Linked DNA regions of Homo sapiens: all the other regions are linked to region 3. Evidence: promoter capture Hi-C in human tissues and cell types (Jung and others, 2019). All regions are on one chromosome and are shown on one strand. The core of a region is centred on a gene start or on the middle of the fragment in contact, and the rest is flanking DNA. Distances in the headings are between cores, read along the strand shown.

Evidence for each region. The method cuts DNA at HindIII sites, captures the fragments that hold promoters and counts their contacts. A contact is called where the count stands out against the background at its distance.
Region 1: a contact is called between a fragment that was not itself captured here and the fragment with the promoter of PARK7 in region 3, in 1 of the 25 tissues and cell types used here (mesendoderm cells).
Region 2: a fragment that was not itself captured here is called in contact with the fragment with the promoter of PARK7 in region 3 in 1 of the 25 tissues and cell types used here (mesenchymal stem cells).
Region 4: a fragment that was not itself captured here is called in contact with the fragment with the promoter of PARK7 in region 3 in 1 of the 25 tissues and cell types used here (H1 embryonic stem cells).
Region 5: a contact is called between a fragment that was not itself captured here and the fragment with the promoter of PARK7 in region 3, in 1 of the 25 tissues and cell types used here (IMR-90 fibroblasts).

Annotation. Positions count from the first base shown.
Region 1 is chr1:7,748,847-7,751,769 of GRCh38, reverse strand. CAMTA1 (calmodulin binding transcription activator 1) reads right to left here. Exons shown (of 23, transcript NM_015215.4): 20 at 378-571. Among named protein-coding and RNA genes, the nearest start is that of VAMP3, 21 kb to the left of the region's middle. The HindIII fragment of the contact is 6,096 bases long and covers 1-2,923 here.
Region 2 is chr1:8,207,789-8,210,619 of GRCh38, reverse strand. It overlaps LINC01714 (long intergenic non-protein coding RNA 1714), which reads right to left and starts at 1,948. Exons shown (of 4, transcript NR_125998.1): 1 at 1,747-1,948; 2 at 25-133. The HindIII fragment of the contact is 4,333 bases long and covers 1-2,831 here.
Region 3 is chr1:7,960,291-7,963,147 of GRCh38, reverse strand. PARK7 (Parkinsonism associated deglycase) reads right to left here and starts at 1,437. Exons shown (of 7, transcript NM_007262.5): 1 at 1,355-1,437; 2 at 273-385. The coding sequence starts at 362. RefSeq lists enhancers at 997-1,056, 1,107-1,156, 1,357-1,406, 802-1,585, 1,787-1,886 and 1 more and a silencer at 1,537-1,636. The HindIII fragment of the contact is 29,789 bases long and covers 1-2,857 here.
Region 4 is chr1:7,831,248-7,834,219 of GRCh38, reverse strand. The region is part of intron 19 of PER3 (period circadian regulator 3); the gene reads right to left. Among named protein-coding and RNA genes, the nearest start is that of UTS2, 20 kb to the left of the region's middle. The HindIII fragment of the contact is 4,650 bases long and covers 1-2,972 here.
Region 5 is chr1:7,715,515-7,718,288 of GRCh38, reverse strand. All of the region lies in intron 11 of CAMTA1 (calmodulin binding transcription activator 1), which reads right to left. Among named protein-coding and RNA genes, the nearest start is that of VAMP3, 54 kb to the left of the region's middle. The HindIII fragment of the contact is 7,429 bases long and covers 1-2,774 here.

The sequences.
Region 1 (2,923 bases), core at 306-2,805, 210 kb after region 3:
ATGTAAAATTACATGAGTGCTGGCAGCGGGCTGTACTTTTTTTTTTTTTTCCTAAACAGGAAATGGGTTAAACTACTATAATTGAGTGGTAACTTTCTGAGTAGAAACTGGTGCTGCCAAATTCTGATATAAGGTAAAATTGGGTGGCAATATCAAAATAATTGGGTGGGAGGTGGAGAGAAAGAGCTAAATATTCAAAACCAGACTCAGCACAGGTGTACTTATCAGCCACCATGCCTAAAACGTTCTGGAACACAGTGACTGCCAATGCTTTAGGCCCACCCCAGACTCCAATGTCAGCCCAGGACAAGTCTTTCAAAGAAGTCAGAGTTCTCTTCCCTAGGGAGCTTTACCTCCATGAGCTCTTCTCCACCCACCTGAGTTTCTGTTGTACAATCACAGCCGTCCGGCGAGCCTGCCGTCTTTTGCCACATTTCTTATAACTTCGGTAGTACTTTTGGATGAGCACAGCAGCCCGTCGGCTCTGCTGGAATTTTTTTTGTTCATAGTAACTTCGGAATTTGCTCTGGATAAGGATGGCAGCCTGTGTCATCTTTTTATAAAGTGCGTACTGCAGGGGAAACAAGAACAAGCGACACAGTAACAACAGGGGCTGCACGGGCTCAGCGTCCTTCGAGCTTACCGGGAAGGGAAGAAGAGAAAATGCTTTTCCCCTCTATTATCACATTCTCTGTCCGGGGTTTAATCACAAAAGAGGCAAATGAGGAATCTTTACACCTACCTTTCCAAAATGTAAAATATTACTTTAAGGGTTGCCTTCAGACATATATTTTTTCCCTAAAATATCAAAATATCTTGCCCTTCTTGGAGAAAAATTTTAATAGCAATACCCTTAGACGTTTATGAATCTAAAAACAGATTTCGACAGTAAAATTTTAAATGCTTCGGATTAATATTTTCTATCCAGTTTTGAAACACTAACATAATTTTTTTATGCCTTCCAATTCCCACCATACACAAATCTACTTAGCATTCAGCCTCTGATTTTTAACTATCATTCCACACGACAAGTTTCTGACTGAGTTGCAAGGTCCCAAATACAAGGCTTATCATGAAACGCTGACACCTTTAAGCCATTTTAACCTGTAAAAGATGAACACTCGTAAGACCAACACGGTGGTGAAGCCGTGAAACCTGGACGGCTGTCACAGAGCTGCGGACGACCCAGGAGGCAGTGCCAGGAGTCCTCCACGCAGCCCGCTGCAGAGCTACAGAAGTGAGGGACGAAGGCCCAGGGTGAATTCTCAACATCAGTCTCTAGGCACTAAAAATACAGAGCTCTCCATGGTCTTAAAATGCTACGTCCAAATTTCTAATCAAACAGAGTATGACTCTGGGGATGAGAAGTTGCAATGAAGCCCTTTGCTTATAAGACGGCAACTTACCGTCGCAAGGAAAAATATTCCCCAGAAAATCCCTGTATCTGCCTAACTGTATCTCTGGATGTATGAGGAGGTGAAATGAGGGAGGGAAACTGACTTCTCAGAATTGTCCAAGAACCAGGACCCTTCTGCAAGAACCTTCTTTGGTCTTATCTGACCTGCTTTACCTTTTCACTGGTCTGAAAGTCTTTGAAGACAAGAATGCTGCAGACTACAGAGCCCCTGTGGTTTCCATCGTCTCCACCTGTGCACACTACACACTCAGACCCATCGGGCCACAGTGAAGCGCTTTGGGAAAAAGGGTATTTACTTAGTGGCCACAGGGCTCACAGGAACTGGCTTAGATGGATTAACACCAGCCAAAAAATGTCCAGTTATTAATGTCGAAACCCACTCCAGCTGAATAACCACGTGGTCCCCAGACGACAGAGGAACTGTGCTTAGGTGGCCTGGCAAGGGGGATATGTTTACTCCATGACTGTGCCATCTTAATGGCCCTCCCTGTAGCTGGTGATGGGTGTGAAGTTTGTGACTCTGGTGGAATGGTTTGTGAGAGGGCTTGGGTGTATCATTACCTTCAAGGCTATCCATGTCAGCTTGGGGGAAAAACAGAAAATACAAGATTAATGTTACATTGCTGAATATAATGAAATTAAAAACCAGAATCAATAAAACTCCCAACCAAGAAAAAAAAAAAAGGCAACCTGGCTATATTAATGCCTTCCATCTTCCAAAATATTTGTTTTATAGTTGTTACTCTTTCCAAAAATAATGCCTTCTGTCTTCCTAGCTGTAGATGACAGTTTCTGGGGAGGGTTTTTTTTTTTAAAAAACCAAACTCATATTTTGGAATCAATACCTGTTGTAATCACAGACTTGAAACCTTCATTCTGTGTATCACTTGTGCTCCCAGGAAGCCTGCTCACCAAACAGAAGCCAGTGCGGCTCCCTGCTATAGAGCTACAGGCACTGTGGTGTCAGCGTTTGCACAATAAACCTTCCTTTTCTGGGATCATGAACTCAACTGGCTCGAAGCCAAAGACGTCCCCCCACCCCCATTAATAGGGCTTAATCCTAGAGAAGCTTGAGGAAACGGCAACCCATATCAGAAATTGAGGCAAGTCCTGGATTATGACAAGGTGATAGAATCCCTAATTTCTATGTGACCATTACACATATTAGAATTTATTATTCCTTAAATAAAAATTTATAACTACCTAAAGCACAATCTGATAAAAGGTTCTCGAATCTACTGACAGGCCTGAATTTTATCGTGTGAACCAGTCAAAACTCCATTAGGCAATTTTTAATATTTTATAACCACCTTGATAATGAGAAAGGCCTAATATTCATGTAATTTCTCTGAGCTTCAGCTTCTTCATCTGTAAACTGGAAATAAATACTGCTTACTTCAAATAATTGTAAAAAGGAAATGAGATGGGGCACCTAAAAAATCTAGTGCATACTAGCTGCCCCAAAAATATGACTTCCCTTTCCCATCTGACTAGTTACATAACCCT
Region 2 (2,831 bases), core at 263-2,762, 250 kb before region 3:
CAAAACTGAGCGTGAGATACTTACTGAGTCCAGCGAAGAGCAGAGACCACAGTCAAATTAAGAGAAACAGACTCAGAAGGCACGGGAAGGAACGTCGATGCTATCAGAAAAGCCAGATTCCACATAAATCCTCCTATTTACAAATGAAAGATTCAGATGACGGGGGAAGGGGCTGCTTGCAGACTCTTTCCCACATCTCTCGGCACAGTGCCCATCTTAAGGGGGAAATCAACGTTAAGAAATGACATTGGTCGGGCACGGTGGCTCACACTTGTAATCTCAGCCCTTTGGGAGGCGGAGGCGGGCAGATTGCTGAGCCTGGGGGGTTCGAGACCAATCTGAGCAATAAAGTGAAACCCCATCTCTACAAAAAATATAAAAATTAGCTGAGTGTGGTGGTGTGCACCTGTAGTCCCAGCTACCGAGGAGGCTGAGGTGGGGGGACCACCTGAGCCCAGGAGGTCAAGGCTGCATTGAGCCGTGATGTCACCACTGCACTCCAGCCTGGGTGACAGACCTAGGTGAAGACCTTAGCTCAAATAAAAATAAAAATAAAAAGAGAAAGGATAAAAAAGATATTTTTCACCCTCTAACCTGAGAATTCTTCCAGATACAACTGAGATAGGTCCACCCCCAAATTCCTCCGCCACCCAGGGCACGCGGCAGTCGGGACTGGAGAGGCTCCCTCAGCGGAGGCTACAGCCAAACATGAAGCTTGCATTCTTTTTTTCTTTCTTCTTTCTTTTCTTTCCTTTTTTCTGTTTCTTTCTGGTAGAGACAGGGATTCACCATGTTGCTCAAGCTGGTTGCCAACTCCTGGGCTCAAGGGAACTGCCCACCTTGGCCTCCCAAAGTGTTAGAATTACAGGTGTGGGCCACTGTGCCCAGCCCTGAAGCTTGCATTCTCCCTGGTCTTCGAGTCTCTGTTACCTCTGGAGCCATCGCAGACATCCAAGCGGCTGCTCACCTCTGGCCAGGCTTCCCCGGCCTATGGCCAATGTGGAAGCTCAGACCCTTGCCCTCAGATGGGCCCGCCCAGGGGGTTTAATTCTCTGCAATTGCCCTCTTGGACTTCTTTTTTTTGAGACGGAGTGTTGCTCTGTCACCCAGGCTGGAGGGCAGTGGCTCGATCTCGGCTCACTGCAACCTCCGCCTCCTGGGTTCAAGCGATTCTCCTGCCTCAGCCTACTGAATAGCTGGGATCACAGGTGTGTGCCACCATGCCCGGCTAATTCCTGTATTTTAGTAGAGAAGGGATTTCACCATGTTGGCTAGTCTGGTCTCGAACTCCTGACCTCATGTGATTCGCCCACCTCGGCCTCCCAAAGTGCTGGAGTTACAGGTGTGAGCCACGCGCTCGGCCCCTCTTGGATTTCTTAATACTTTTCTTTCTGACTTTGTGGTTTGTAAATGAAATCCAGTGGGACAAAGGATCTGCTGGCAGGAGGGCACGGACTGTGGGGATCAAGGACAGTTAGGGTTTCAGGGTTGGGACTCAAGCACCCTGCCCCTGGGCACCTGAGTCTGTGAGACTCCCAGAGATGTCTTTGAGAACCCCCCGTCCCAGGGAGCACACCATTCAATCACAAATAAAAACCACTGTGACAGGTGAAGGGAGGAAAGGAAAAAGCTTTTCTCCTGCTTTTGGAACCAGGAGTCCCGTGTTGTCGTGTTGCACGGGACCTGGCAGTGACATCGCTGGCTCTGCCTCTGGCCCCAACACATCCTCCAGTGTGTGTCTCTCACCTGGACGGGCTCTCCAGGCCGATGCGTTGGGATGCTGACTTTTAGAGTTTTGTGTGTGACAAAGCAGAGGACAAGCTTCCCCATCACCCAGAGGCCACTTGGTGGAGGAGCCGGGGAAGCTGCTGGCTTCTCGGGCTTTTGTAGTCATGGGTTGGCCACCGAAGCCCAAGGCCAACTGTCACCTACTCCAAGTCTTGACATCCTCATCTGCAAAAAGCAAAGAGATAACATGATTTTCAAGATGTTTTCTGGCTCTACGAATATCTGACGATTCCGAGTACACGATAAGGCTCATTTTCTGCTTGGGAAAACCCAGTGCTGGAGAGAACACAGGATCCCCCAGCTTCCCAACACCAGCCTAGGGAAATGATGTTCATCTGACAATGAAAATTTCTAGGGCCGGGGTGGTGACTCACACCTAGAATCCCAACACTTTGAGAGGCCGAAGTGGGAGGATCGCTTGAGGCCAGGAGTTCAAGACCAGCCTGGGCAACACAGCGGGACTCCCTCTCTACAAAAAATAAAAATAAGCCAGGCATGATGGTGTGTGCTTGTAGTCCCAGCTACGCAGGAGGCTGAGGTGGGAGCATTGCTTGAGCCCGGGAGGTTGAGGCCACGGTGAGTAGTGATTGTGCCACTACACTGCAGCCTGGGCGACAGAGTAAGACCCTATCTCAAAAAAAAGAGAAAATTTTAGAATTAGTGGCAGTGGAAAACGATGCAAAGGTTCCTATGTTTTGAGGTGCATCCTATAACCCAGATTTATTGTAGGAGAAATTTCATAGCATCTCAGATCCTAGGCTTGGTGGACAATGAGAGGGGAGGTTAATAAATATTCCTTCTGCCTTTGGGAGGGTAGAATAAAGAAGCTGATGTACAAATCAAAAATATTTATAACTAATAAATCCTATCAAAACCCTCACTGTGACAATGGGCCATAATTTTTGTTCTCTTTTAAAACTGCTATTGTCGACCAGCCGCGGTGGCTCACGCCTGTAATCCCAGCACTTTGGGAGGCTGAGGCGGGTGAATCACCTGAGGTCAGGAGTTCAAGACCAGCCTGGCCAACATGGTGAAACCCCGTC
Region 3 (2,857 bases), core at 188-2,687:
AGACCGAAATGAGCCAAGATCCTGCCATCGCACTCCAGCCTGGACGACAGAGCTCAAAACAAAAGAGAAATGGGTCTGAAGGAAATATGGCAAGACATTAACAAGCGTTAAATGTGAGCAGTGGATCAACAGGTATTTATTCTTATGTCATCTCTGAAATTTTGTGTATATTTGAAATATTTCATAGAGCACTTTGAATATTTTATTCAAAATGATTTAAAAATCCAAAAACATTTAAAACAGGAATGGCTAAAAATCGATGTGGGACTTACCCCAGCTCGCCTCATGACATCTACAGGGATGACCGTCTCCATTTCCTCTGCTCCTTTAGCCAGGATGACCAGAGCTCTTTTGGAAGCCATTTTTATGTTATATGTTTACAAGCCTTAAAAAAAAAAAAAAAAAAAGATTTCAAAAAACTTTCATTGCAACCCTGAGATACCCCAAAATTTAAAGTTTAGGAGCATTTTCAAGCAGAGTAAGTACTTCCTAGGGAAACGGTTTTCATAGACAACTGAATACGAAAAAAGCAGCAGTTTAGTTATCTTAACGTTGATTTGTATAGCAGTTTTAATTGCTCTGAGATGAAAACATAATGAGGGTGCTAAAAGGTGTAGTATTGCTTAGATTTTCTTCTACCATGTTCTCTTAAATCCAACTTTAATAGTATGTTGCAAATGGGTTTTTTAAAAATACAAGTACGTGGGTCTCCTGCATTTCACACAATGCGGGGAAACAGTCTTTTTTGAAGCACTGTTTCAGAGAAACGACTAAACTGAATTTCATGGGCAAAAATTTAAATGTGGTCTTTCGCAATTAACTTGTAATTTTTTGGAGGGGATTTTTGTTTTCTTAGTTATAACTGTACTAAAAAATTGTGTGTGGGGGTCAACAGTGTTAAATGTCTGAACACTTTTTTTAATGACTGAGAAAGATGGAAATCCCCTCACTGAAGTCAACCCAACTACATCTGTCTCTCTGCGCGGAGTTCTCACTGCCAACGACAGCAGCTCAACGAGGTTCCGAATTTTTTTTAGCCTATTTACAGATTATCTGGAGGGTTTACCGTCCACGCAAAACAGAGTTTAATAAAACGGCTAGCCAGTTCCATGCCGGCGAGAGGTTAGGCAGAAGATTCTGGACGCTTCAGCGTTGCCACCACGCTGGCGGTCAGTCAAATCCAACGCCAGCGACAGGGCCCGACTGGGAGGCCGGAAGCGAGGGCGGCCCCGACCCAGGCCCCGCGCCGGTTCTGAGCCAGCGGGACACCGTCCAGCACAGGGACACCGTCCAGCACCCCCACGCCGCCCAGCGCCACGGCCCACACATGCGCCGCGCCCCCGCTGGCGCTGACCTGCACCCCGCGCCTCTTCCTGCGGACGCGGCGCCCCGGCCCGTTGGGTACCACTCACCCCACACCAGGCTGAAAATGAACGCACGCCAGCACGCACGCGCGCCGTCCGGCCTCCCTCAGCCCCACACTGCGCAGACTCACGCCGCCTTGGCCTCACGCTGCGTCACGTCCGGCCGAGTCTACCTCGGACTGAGGCGGGGGTGGCACCGGGGAGTTTCTAGCTGGACAGCCCTGGGTGAGGCGGCTCGGTCCCACATGGTACCCCCCACGAATGGCACAGTCCGGCCTGCCCCGGCGCCCGCGGGGCTTAACAGTCTCTACCGCCACCCTCCGTGAGGAGCCGGTCTCTGGAACTGCCGAGGGACTGGGGTTGTCAGAGGGGTTCCTTAGTTCGCGCTCCGTGCACGCCTGCTCCCTTTGCGTTGTTCCTTTTCTGGCGCGCCTTCCCGTTTCGCCTCTGGTCTGTTAGGACTCTGGTCCAGGCCTCCCGGACCTCTCCCCCACGCCTGGTCTCCCGATCTCGGGCGACTCTGCCGCATTTATTCACACCCGGATGTCTCAGGGGTGTGAGTTTTTTTCTCAGCATTGTTTGTTTTCTTTAACGATCCTGATGCTGCTGCACCCACAGGACTAGAGCAGTGCTGCGCACATAAGTCTAATAAGTACCAAGTTGGTCAGATGTATTTACATCATAATCTCAAGTTGTATTTATTGATATGTAAGAGACGTATGTGTTTTCTGGGTACATGTGGTATTTTGATACTTTCATATAATGTGTAATGATTAAATCAGGGTAAATGAGATCTCTATCACCTTAAACATTTGTCTTTATACTGGGAACATTCCAGTTACTCTCTTCAATAATAACATTTTAAAATATACAACAGATTACTGTTAACTATAGTCACCCTACAGAACTCTGCCAACGCTAGGTCTTATTCCCTCTTAAGGAGAGCACAGATCACCTGGTGACCATCAAGCAGGCCCCTTATCTGAGGAATTTAGAAGTAATTAGATATCCCTATTATCTAAAGTTGGCACCTGGTACCAGGTTAAATCAAAGGAAATAGTTAAAGCCCAAAATTCTTGAATGAGCTTAGAAGGATCCTGGCTAAATGAACGCAACTTGGATTGAATTTGCAAAAAATGAGACATTCGAAAAGGGACATGAAAAATCCACCGCGGCATGCTCAGTTCTCTCTTGCTGAGGCTGCACTCTTCTGCAGCGTTCTAATAAAACTTTCCTTTTTCAAACCTATATTGTTGTCGATAAATTCTTCTTACCAACCAGCAAGTCGACCACTTTCTGATGCTGGGGCTCTTGACACCTTGCCCAGCACTTCTACCAATTTTTGTACCTATTAATCACCCTGTTCATCCCCTTCTCCTGGCTACCCTTCCTGGCCTCTGGTAACCACCAACTTATCTTCATGATATCCACTTTTCAACTTCCCATTTATGAGTGAAATCATGTGATGCTTGTCTTTCTTTGCCTGGCTTGTT
Region 4 (2,972 bases), core at 94-2,593, 130 kb after region 3:
GGCTGGGCGTGGTGGCTCACACCTGTAATGCCAGCACTTTGGGAGGCCAAGGCGGGCGGATCGCCTGAGGTCAGGAGTTTGAGTTCAGTCTGGCTGACATGGTGAAACTCCGTCTATACTAAAAATACAAAAAATTAGGCGTGGTGGTGCACGCCTGTAGTACCAGCTACTTGGGAGGTAGAGGCAGGAGAATTGCTTGAACCTAGGAGGTGGAGGGTGCAGTGAGCCAAGATGGCACCACTGCACTCCAGCCTGGGTGACAGAGTGAGACTCAGTCTCAAAGAAAAAAATAAGATAAAATAAAAATAAATAAAAAGTTAATCCTAGAGCAAAAACAAAAAAAAAGTTATGCTTAGAAGCCAATACACAATTAACCCGAAAGGAGGAGGGTAGGAGGAAAAAAAGAAAGGGCAGATGAGACAAACAGAAAATTAGTAGCAAGATGAAAGATTTAACTTAAACCTAACCATATCAATATTCACATTAAATGTAAATAATCTAAGCAAGCATTGCAGTTAAAAGGCTGAGACTGTCACATGAATAAAAAGCAATACCCAACTATATGGTGGTTACGAGAAACTTACTTTAAATATAAAGACACAGATAAGTTGAAAGTAAAAAGATGAAAAAAATTTACCATGTAAACACTAACCAAATAAAGCTGGACTGGATACACTGATATCAGACAAAGCAGACTTCAAAGCAAGACATATTTCAGGATAAAGAGAGCAATTCATCAAGAGGATATAATAATCTCAAGTGTATATGCACCTAATAAAAGAGCTTCAAAATACATGAAGCAAAAACTCACTGCACTATAAGAAAAAATAGAGAAATTCACATTTATAGCTGGACATATAAACCATATCATAATAACTTATAAAACAGATAGAAAATCAGTTAGAAAAGGTTGGATCAACATTATCAACCAACTTGATCTAATTTACATTTACAGAACACATGACTCAACAACAGCAGAAAGCATATTCTTTTCAAATGCACATGAAACATTTATCATGATGGACCAAATTCCAGATCATTACACAATGTCTTGGTAAATTTAAAAAATACAAAAGAATGTTCTCTGACTGCATTTAAATTAGAAATAAAATAAAAATATCTAAAAAAAATCTCCAAATATTAGGAAATTAAGCCTTTCTAAAACAACCAAAAGATCAAAGAAGAAAATACAAGTGAAATTAGAAATATTTTAGACTGGCCAGGTACACTGGCATATGCCTGCAGTTCCAGCTACTCAGGAAGCTGAGGCCAGAGGATTGTTGAACCCAGAAGTTTGAGGGTGCAGTGAGCTGGGATCATGCCACTGCACTCCAGCCTGGGCAACAGAGTGAGACCTTGGTTCCAAAAAAAAAAAAAAAAAATTTGAGGGATGCAATGGTTAGAGCATTCAATAGCATTAAATGTTTATATTGGGGGGGAAAAATCTCAATTCAAAGATCTAACAAGTAAGCTTCTACCTTAAGAAATAAGAAAAAAAAAATAAAATCCAAAGTAAAGAGAAAAGAAGTAATAAAAATTAGAGCATAGGCTGGACACGGTGGATGATGCTTGTAATCCCAGCAATTTGGAAGGCCAAGGCGGGCGAATCATGAGATCAGGAGTTCAAGACCAGCCTGGCCAACATGGTGAAACCCCGTCTCTACTAAAAATACAAAAAATCAACTGGGTGTGGTGGCGGGCACCCGTAATCCCAGCTACTCGGGAGGCTAAGGCAGGAGAATCGCTTGATCCTGGGAGGTGGAGGTTGCAGTAAGCCAATATCGTGCCACTGCACTCCAGCCCAGGTGACAGTGCCAGACTCTGTCCCAGGGAAAAAAAAAAAAAAAAAAAAAGAGCATAAATCAATAAAATAAAAAACCAAAAAACAATAGGAAAAAAAACCCCAATGAGATCCAAAGTTCTTTGAAAAGTTATTAAAATTGATAAACATACAGTCAGATTGATCAGGAAAAATATTAATACCAGCAATAAGAGGGGTACATTACTATAAAACCTACAGACATTAAAAGGAAAAGGGAATATTAAAAACTTTATGCCAATATATTCAACAAATTAGATAAAATAGATACATTTCTTGAAAGATACAAATTACCAAAGATCACTAAGAAACTGATAACCTGATTAGACCCATATATATTAAAATATTTAAATTTGTTGTTAAAATCCTCCTCACCAAGAAAACTCCAGGCCCAGAAAGATTCACTGGTAAAGTCTACCAAACTTACAAAGAAAAAATAATATCAGTTCAACACAAACTCTTCCAGAAAACAGAATAGCAAAGAATAGTTCCTAGCTCATTTTTTGAGGCCAGAATTACTCTGATACCAAAACCAGACAAAGACATTACAAGTAAAGAAAGTAAATGGACCAATATTCTGCACAGAGATGCAATAATGCGTAACAAAATATTAGGAAGATAATCCAACAACATATAAAAAAGGATAAAAGAGCATGACCAAATGCAAGGTTAATTTATTATCAGAAAACTGATGTAATTCACCATATTAATAGAATAAGGGAGGAAAACCACATGATTATCTCAACAGACGCAGAAAGGGCAACTCAGTGGAGCAGCAATAGAAGTGAACTTCCTCAATCTGATAAGGGCATTCAAGGAAAACTTATACTTAACATCGTACTTAATGGTGAAACACTGACTGCTTTCCCCTTAAGACTGTGAACCAGGCAAGTGTCTATTTTCCTATTTCTATTAAACACTTCACTGTGGGTCCTAGCCAGTTCAATGAGGCAAGACAAATAAATAAAGACATACAGACGGAAAAAAAGAAGTAAAATTATATTTGCAGATAATAAAGACTATGTAGAAAAGTCCTGCAGAATCTAAAAAGAGCTACTAAAACTAATCAATGAGTTTAGCAAGACTGCAAAATACAAGTTAAAAATACACAATTTGATTAAATTTCTATATGCTAACAACAAACAATTGCAAA
Region 5 (2,774 bases), core at 269-2,768, 240 kb after region 3:
GAACGGACTCATTCCACAAATGTTTACGGAACGCCCACTGTGTTTACGGAACACCCACTGTGTTTACGGAACGCCCACTGTGTTTACGGAACGCCCACTGCTGGCTAAGACTGCGCCAAGGCTCTAGGGAACTAAGGGTGAACAAGACAACTCAAGTTGTTAGCCACCGGGACTACAAAAACCCAACACGATATGAGCCTTTGTCACCAGAAACTCGGTCTCATATACATGAACGTAAAGAGAAATTGTGTTGGCTCAGTGAGGCCAGTGACTACGTTCATCCCAGTCACCGCTACATTCCTGAGGCCTAGCAGAAATTCCTGGTGCACAGTAGGCCCTCTGTAAATATTTATTGACGAAATGATTTAATTTCAACTATCGGAAATACACAACGTGAACTTCAAGAAGAACAAGGTACAGAATAACATGTAGAACAAATATTTGTTTCCATGAGTCATTTCTATGATGGGCTTTTTTTCAGCCAAGTTATTAAAAGCAGCTCCTTCATGGTCACCTTTTAGCTAATAAGAATATATCCGTTTTTATTTTTTTATTTTTTTTTAGACAGGGTCTCGCTTTGTTGCTCAGGCTGGAGTGCAGTGGTGCAAACATGACTCACCACAGCCTCTACCTCCTGCCTTAGCCTCCTAAGTAGCTGGGACCACAGGCATGCACCACCACGCCTGGCTAATTTTTTGTATTTTTGGTAGAGGTAGGGTTTCACTATGTTGCCCAGGCTAATCTCAAACTCCTGGGCTCAAGTGATCCTCTTGCCTCAGCCTCCCAAAGTGCTGAGATTACAGGTGTGAGCCACTACGCCTGGCCTCAAATTTTTTTGACATGGACATAAATTGTACGTATTTATTGCATACAACCTGATGTTTTGAAGTACATGAACGTTGTGGAAAGATTAAATCTAGCTAATTAACAAATGTACTACATAGTAATGCACTATGTACAAATGTACTTTGGAGTACATTTGTTCATTAAATAATGACACAGCTATCATTTTTGTGGTGAGGGCATTTAACATCTACCCTCTTAGCAATGTTCAGGAATATATCATGATGAACTCGAGTCACCAGGCTGTACAATAACCCCTTGAACTGATTCCTCCTGTCTAACTGTAAATACACATTCTCTGACAAACATCTCCCCGACGTCCCCATTCCCAGCCTCTGGTAATGACTATTCTATTGTCCACTGCCATGAGATCAACTTTTTAAGACTCTGCCTAGGAGTGAGATCATGTGGCATTTGTCTTTCTGTGCCTGGCTTACTTCACTTCACAGAATGCTGTCCATATTCAGCTCTGATGTTGGCAATGGCAGGATTTCATTCTGTTTTATGGCTGAATAGTACTCCACTGTAGACACAGACCACATTTTCCTTACACATTCATCCACAGATGGACACTCAGGGTGCTACCGTATCCTGGTTATTGTGAACAGTGTTGCAATAAACACAGGAGTGCAGATCTCTCTCTGACATCCTAATTTCATTTCCTTTGGCTACAGACGCAGTGGTGGGATTGCTGGATCCTCATTAGTTGTGCCAAGCTCATTCTCCATACATTATTTAGGACTGCTATTGGCAAGGCTTGGCTCTCAGAACTAACTCTAGGGGGACCATCTGCACAGACGGTGCTAACTGTCTTGCTAACTTGTGAGAGTTAAAGCCCAAGACGTTCCAAAAATATGTATTTTTCTGAATACTGGATTCTACATGAGAGACTTCTGTTCCAGAACTCACAAGTTTATTAATTATAATGTTTTTCATAGTGCTACAAAATCTGGAAAACATATAGGTAAATAAGTCCTTCCCAACTTAGTAGAATGAAATGTACATATTTTAAAATAAATAGCTGGATTCTGGATAAAATATCTGTCCAATATTTTATCTTTATTATTAGGGGCTAATAAAATAGGTCCTAATGGATAAAATGACTTAAGAATATTAGCTGGGCACAGTGTCTCATGCCTGTAATCCCAGCACTTTGAGGCTGAGGCAGGAGGATCACTTGAACTCAGGAGTTGGAGACCAGCCTGGGCCACATAGTAAGACCCTATCTCAACAAAACATAAAAAAATTAGCTGGGCACGGTGGCATGAGCCTGTAGTCCCAGCTACTCTGGAGGCTGAGATGGGGGGATCACGTGAGCCCAGAAGGTGGAGGCCACAGTGAGCTTCAATCATGCTGCTGCACTCCAGCCCGGGCAACAGAGTGAGACCCTGTTTCAAAAACAAAATAAAACAAAGCAAAACAATTTTATAATTCATCATAGACCCTTCTGATAAATAGATGATATTTTTAAAAAGTCAATATACCACATAAATATTTTATTCAGAAATAAACTATTTCCCCAAGGGAAGTACAGGGTTTCAGAAAATTTTTAGTCATTAAGCTTCTTCCGAGTAGTGTCAGGATGCTTGTGAGGATTCTTTCATGTCTCGGCTCCTTATGCCACATCAGAATACATCAAGGACTGCTCTCCCATGCCGGCACGGCACTCAGTTCCTCTGAGTATCCCTTGGCACCCTACCCCTAGACCAGAGTCATCCTCCGATTTTTGCAAATTTCAAATCAGTGAGGCCTGAACAAATGTATGAATTACTGAGGCCAGCATTAAAGCATCCCTTGGATTACGTAAAAAAGCAAAACACTTAAGGGTGCTTTCTGTGAAAGGGGGATGTGGCTGGCACAGTGGCTACACCTGTAATCCCAGCGCTTTGGGAGGCTGAGGTGGGAGGATCACTTGAGCCCAGGAGTTCAAG